Regions from separate parts of the Homo sapiens genome. Here region 2 is linked to region 1. Evidence: promoter capture Hi-C in human tissues and cell types (Jung and others, 2019). All regions are on one chromosome and are shown on one strand. The core of a region is centred on a gene start or on the middle of the fragment in contact, and the rest is flanking DNA. Distances in the headings are between cores, read along the strand shown. Region 1 holds the start of SRP14 (signal recognition particle 14). Region 2 overlaps GPR176 (G protein-coupled receptor 176).

What was found. Contacts are between HindIII fragments. The study calls those that stand out against the background at their distance.
Region 2: a fragment that was not itself captured here is called in contact with the fragment with the promoter of SRP14 in region 1 in 1 of the 25 tissues and cell types used here (liver).

The regions. Positions count from the first base shown.
Region 1 is chr15:40,037,931-40,040,630 of GRCh38, forward strand. SRP14 (signal recognition particle 14) reads right to left here and starts at 1,251. Exons shown (of 5, transcript NM_003134.6): 1 at 1,163-1,251; 2 at 946-1,018; 3 at 352-464. The coding sequence starts at 1,186. SRP14-DT (SRP14 divergent transcript) reads left to right here and starts at 1,381. Exons shown (of 3, transcript NR_040060.1): 1 at 1,381-1,518. LOC124903471 (a long non-coding RNA gene) reads left to right here. Exons shown (of 2, transcript XR_007064596.1): 2 at 1-479. RefSeq lists enhancers at 269-1,214, 915-964, 985-1,164, 1,215-2,159 and a silencer at 1,245-1,454. The HindIII fragment of the contact is 11,754 bases long and covers 1-2,700 here.
Region 2 is chr15:39,901,778-39,904,545 of GRCh38, forward strand. The region is part of intron 1 of GPR176 (G protein-coupled receptor 176); the gene reads right to left. Among named protein-coding and RNA genes, the nearest start is that of GPR176, 17 kb to the right of the region's middle. The HindIII fragment of the contact is 3,146 bases long and covers 1-2,768 here.

The DNA of each region.
Region 1 (2,700 bases), core at 1-2,500:
GAAATAATAGCATCACCTGGTACCAAGAAACTGCTTATTGAAGGCCCAGCACAGTAAGGGGCTAAGGAATCAAATATTTATGCCAGCTGCTCCTTACAGTACTACGAATAAGGACCAATATGCTACTTTCATTTCCACAAGAGCTTTAGCAGAACTAACGACTGTCTGACCTCTACCTTCTTATTTTATTCTTGAGGTTTCCACTACTAAAGTATAGGAAGGTCCTGGTCTCAAAAATAGCCACACAGGGCAAAAGGGAAAAACAAATAAAAGCCTGGTTCAGAAACGCCCCATCCTCTGTTAAGTTCAAGTCTTTACATTTCAAAAGACAGCCTTAGAAATTAAGCTCACCACAGTGCTGATCTTCTTCTTCCCATCGGTAGCTCTTAACAGACACTTGTTGTCTGCGGGCTCAAAGCCCTCCACAGTACCCTTCTTTGGAATGGGTTTGGTTCGACCGTCATCTGAAGGAAAAAATGCATCCTGGTGAACACGGCCGCGTACGTGGCTGAGCGGCAGACAAACAGTTAAAACAGAGGAGTGGGGTAAGTGATGACCTAACCCAGCCCCGCTGCTCTAGTTTTGTTAAACACCTCATCTGCTATCACGGTCTGGCGAAACCCTGGAGAAACTATTATTTCCACGACGGAAACATGTAATATCGAAGCACGTTAAATTCCACTCAAAGTGGCGGCGTCTGGGATCCCTGACAAAGAGCCCTGGGCTGCTTGGGGCCCATTGTTACCAGAAGCAACCTAGGCGGCTCAGTGCTGGGGACTGAGCCAGCTACAATCCCTACTATTTTCCGGGCCCGAAGCCCCGAATGTGCTCAGTACAGGGTGGGGAAAGGTAGAGGAAGGCGGCGGTCCGCGGCAGACAGACTCCGGTGGCTCCCAGACACCGGGAACCCAGGGAGCATCGCCCGGCTCCCCTCCCGCTGCTTACACTTCTTCAAGGTGATATAGACGCTGCCCGACGTCCGGCACTTCTGGAAAAGTCTGGTCAGCTCCGTCAGGAACTGGAAAACAACAGGCCCAGCCCCGTTAGCCAGCCCCAAATCCTCGTCCTGCCGCGTCAAGGCCCTGGTCCTCCTGCAGGAGGCACAGGTCTCGAGTAACGCCTGAGCCGCCCCCTTCCCTCGGCCGGCCAGGCCTAGCCATACCTGCTCGCTCTCCAACAACACCATCGCGGCGACGCTGGCTCGACTCCCTCCGCTTAAGCCCCTAGCAGTGAGAGCCGGAAGTTCGGCCTAGGCTGGGCGGGACTTCCGCTACTAGACTTCCATTGTCTTCCACCAATCTCTTCTCTTCCACCAATCCCGGCCTGCGCCCTCCCCCCTCCCCGCCCGCCTAGCGCCCGCGCCCTGGGACGTCCGGGGGCCTGTGACCCGGAGGCGCTGGGGCTGTCCTGGGTCGTCACATGCGAGAAATCGTCTCACCCCAGCCAGTGTGACGGAGTGAGAGCAAAAGAAAGTTTTGATAGCAGCGTACGATTTATATTCAGCTGTATGCTGGGCAGGTAACCTAACAACTCAGTGACTCAGTTTCCTTATCCATAAAGTAAGGGTAATGATAGTATCTACCGCGCAGTGTGGTCGTGAAGCGTAAATGAAACTCAGATTAAATACGTAGAACAGTGCCTGGCACATAGAGCGTGTTCAGTAGGTATCAGCTATTGTTCTTTTCATTATTGTCATTATAAGTTCCTGTAGAGATCCTTTAAACTCTCCCTAAACGCTGACCTGCAGCTCTAGCCAGAAGGGCTGGGCCGGGCGTGGTGGCTCACGCCTGTAATCCCGGCACTTTGGGAGGCCGAGGCGGGTGGATCACGAGGTCAGGAGATTGAGACCATCCTGGCTAACACGGTGAAACGCTGTCTCTACTAAAAATACAAAAAAGTTAGCCGGGCGTGGTGGCGGGCACCTGTAATCCTAGCTACTCGGGAGGCTGAGGCAGGAGAATGGCGTGAACCCAGGAGGCAGAGCTTGCAGTGAGCTGAGATCGCGCCACTGCACTCCAGCCTGGAAGACAGAGCGAGACTCCGTCTCAAAAAAAAAAAAAAAAAAAAAAAAAATGAGGGGCTGGAGCCCAGTCTTTAGTTCTACCTCTGATTAGTCAGGAGAACTAGGTTGTAAGCCCTCTCTGCCACTAGCCAACTTGAACCCTGGGCCCTCTATAAAGTCAAGCATTCCACCACACAAGAGGTTTTCGCTGAGTGCCTCTCAGTCTGTGCCAGGCACGGTTGTAGAGGTTGGGGATGCAGCAGGATAAGAAAAGCTAAGTTCCTGGTTTCCTGGAAGTTGGGTTAAAGGGGCAGGGAGGAAATAAACAATGAAGCAAACAAGTAAGTAGTACAGCTTCAGATAATGAATTCCGTGAGACAGCCTAAGCAGGGCTGTATAATGAGAGTGGGAAGGGGACTGCCTGGGTTGGGGTCAGGGGAGTTCTCGTCGAAAAGGAGAACTTTGAGTTGAAAGCTGAAAGGACCAGCCATCCAAAGATCTAGGGACACAGTGTTTCAGACACAGGGAACGGCTAGAGCAAAACCTTCAAAGGGGAAACAAGTTGCCCTGTGTCTGTAAGACTGGCAGGTGCGGGTGGGGGTGAGGAGGGCTTGTGGAGCAAGGAGTAAAGGAGTATGGAGAGGTAGCTGGGGACCAGATTATGTAGGGCCCGTGACCATAGTAAGCCTGGATTTTGT
Region 2 (2,768 bases), core at 234-2,733, 140 kb before region 1:
AAATATAGACTCCAGGCCTGGCACGGTGGCTCACACCTGTAATCCCAGCACTCTGGGAAGCCAAGGAAGGCAGATAATTTGAGGTCAGGAGTTCGAGACCAGCCTGGCCAATATGTTGAAAGCCTGTTTCTACCAAAAATACAAAAAAAAAAAAAAATTAGCCAGACGTGGTGGTGCATGTCTGTAATCCCAGCTACTTGGGAAGCTGAGGTGGAGGGATCGCTTGAACCCAGGAGGCAGAGGTTGCAGTGAGCCGAGATTGTGCCACTGCACTCCAGCCTGGGCAACAAAGTGAGACTCTGTCTCAAAGAAAACGAAAAAATAGACTCCAAGACCCCATGTCAAACCCACTAAAACAGAATTTCTGTTGGTGAAACTCAATAATTTGCATTTTGACAAGTGATTTTTATGCATACTAGGTTTAAGAATCTCTGCCTTGCAAGTACAATCACAAAAGAGGCAGGGTGATTTACCAGCACTCAACCCACCATTCAGCAGCAAGGCCAGGCTAGAATTTACCCTTCCCAAGCACCTGGTGTGATCCTTACCTGCTAGAGCCCATTGATTTGTTATTAACAAGAAAAATGATTTGACACTCTTCAGGGAAAAGTTCCATCCAATCTTAAGAATAATAGCATCCTGCAGAGAAACAGGCAGTTAGCCCTCTAGTCCCTAATCCTGCCTTTCACCTGGCAGACGCAGAAAGCTTCATCTTAAGGCTTCTGGTCATTTGTAGATTCATTGCTACTAAAGACTTGCAACCTTGGGAGCAGGCCACAGAAACAACAGGTCAAATACAAAAGGTGCTATTCTCATCAATCAATGAAAGGGTCTGAAAACTGAGATTTGATTATTTTGTCTCTGCTGGAGTCTCGCTTGAACTCTGTGTTCCTGGAAATTGAATTAACACTCAGGTTGACTTCAGAGAGTTATTCTTTCCTTCCCATTTAGCAGCCTCTGAAAGTGTTTCTTGCCCTAAGAAACTACACAGGAAGCCCCAACAAAAAGTAGTTGTAATTAAAGGTGCAAATGAGCACACAAGGGATGCCCAGGGAACCAGGGAGTAAATATCACATATTCTATACAAGGCAGAGATGTCCTCAAAAATTCTTGCTCAGAAAATACAAAGTCACTCCTAATACAAGGCACTCTCTCAATTAGAGATGGTCCCAACCTATGAGAGTTCCACTTTCAATTTTTCAACTTTACCATGGTGCAAAAGCAATATATTTTCAGTACAGTATTTAATAAACTACATGAGGTATTCAACACTTCATTATAAAATAGGCCTTGTGTTAGATGATTTTCTCCAACTGTTGGCTAATGTAAGTGTTCTGAGCTCATTTAAAGTAGTCTAGGCTAAGCTATGATATTTGGCAGTTTAGGTGTACCAAATGCATTTTCAGCTTATACTTTCAACTTACAATGGATTTACTGGGACACCTCATCATAAGTCAAGGAGCATCTGTACTTTATTCGAAACAAATAACAAATTATTTGGAACTTTGTTTGGAGAAGGCACGATGACCTGAAATTATCTCTGTCCATGCTACTTTGGGCTTCCTGTAGAGGTCATCTGATGCAGTACGTTTTAAAAAGAAGCAAATTATTCATCATTCCTGGGTGTGTGAGTTCACAACTGTAAGTTTTATAAGCTCTCTTTAAAAATCCATATATTATTATGTCATGGCATTTGTGAATGGCAACCAGACAAACAGGGAGAAGAAAGAAAAACAGTCCTAAAAAAATGAGAATGATTACTTGTGGCTTAGCATAATATTTTCAGTGGCTACATCATATGTGAGGTTTTTTTTTTTAAGTGTGGCATCTTACACAGGTTTAAGTAATGATGATGGGCCTCCAAAAAACTGTATGAGATGGCTCCAAACTGCTTCCAGCCAAAGCAGATGCTGATGTTGAAGAGGCATATGGAGACTTTGAACAAAACTGCATCATGAATTTTAAGTAGGGGGAAAAATGCTTCTAAATTAACATAGTGTCTGGTCATTGTGTTACAGGAAAGGGGTCCAATCCAGACCCCAAGAGAGGATTCTTGGGTCTCGTGCAAGGAAGAATTCAGGACGAATCCCATAGGGTGAAGTGAAAGCAAGTTTATTAGGAAAATAAAAGAATAAAAGGATGGCTACTCCATAGACAGAGCAGCCCCAAGGGCTGCTGGTTGCCCATTTTTATGGTTATTTCTTGATGATATGCTAAACAAGGGGTGGGTTATTCATGCCTTCCCTTTTTAGACCACATATGGTAACTTCCTGATGTTGCCATGGCATTTGTAAACTGTCATGGCACTGGTGGGAGTGTAGCAGTGAATACGGCCAGAGGTCACTCTCGTTGTCATCTTGGTTTTGGTGGGTTTTGGCTGGCTTTTTTACTGCAACCTGTTTTATCAGCAAGGTCTTTATGACCTGTATCTTGTGCTGACCTCCCATCTCATCCTATAAGTTAGAATTCCTTAACTGTCTGGGAATGCAGCCCGGCAGATTTCAGCCTTATTTTACCCAGCTTCTGTTCAAGATGGAGTTGCTCTGGTTCACATGCTTTTGATAATCAGAAGCAGAAAATTCTACCAAGGCATCAAGATATAATAGATATAAAGTAAGATATCAGATCAAGATGTAAATGTTTCACAGGTGTAGTCAAGAGGTATAAGACTCAAACCTTCACCAACCTGGAGGATATAATGGAATAGATAGAGAACTGTGGGTGCACTGTGAGTCCTACTTACCCAGGAAGGAAGGGTGGGGGTGCTC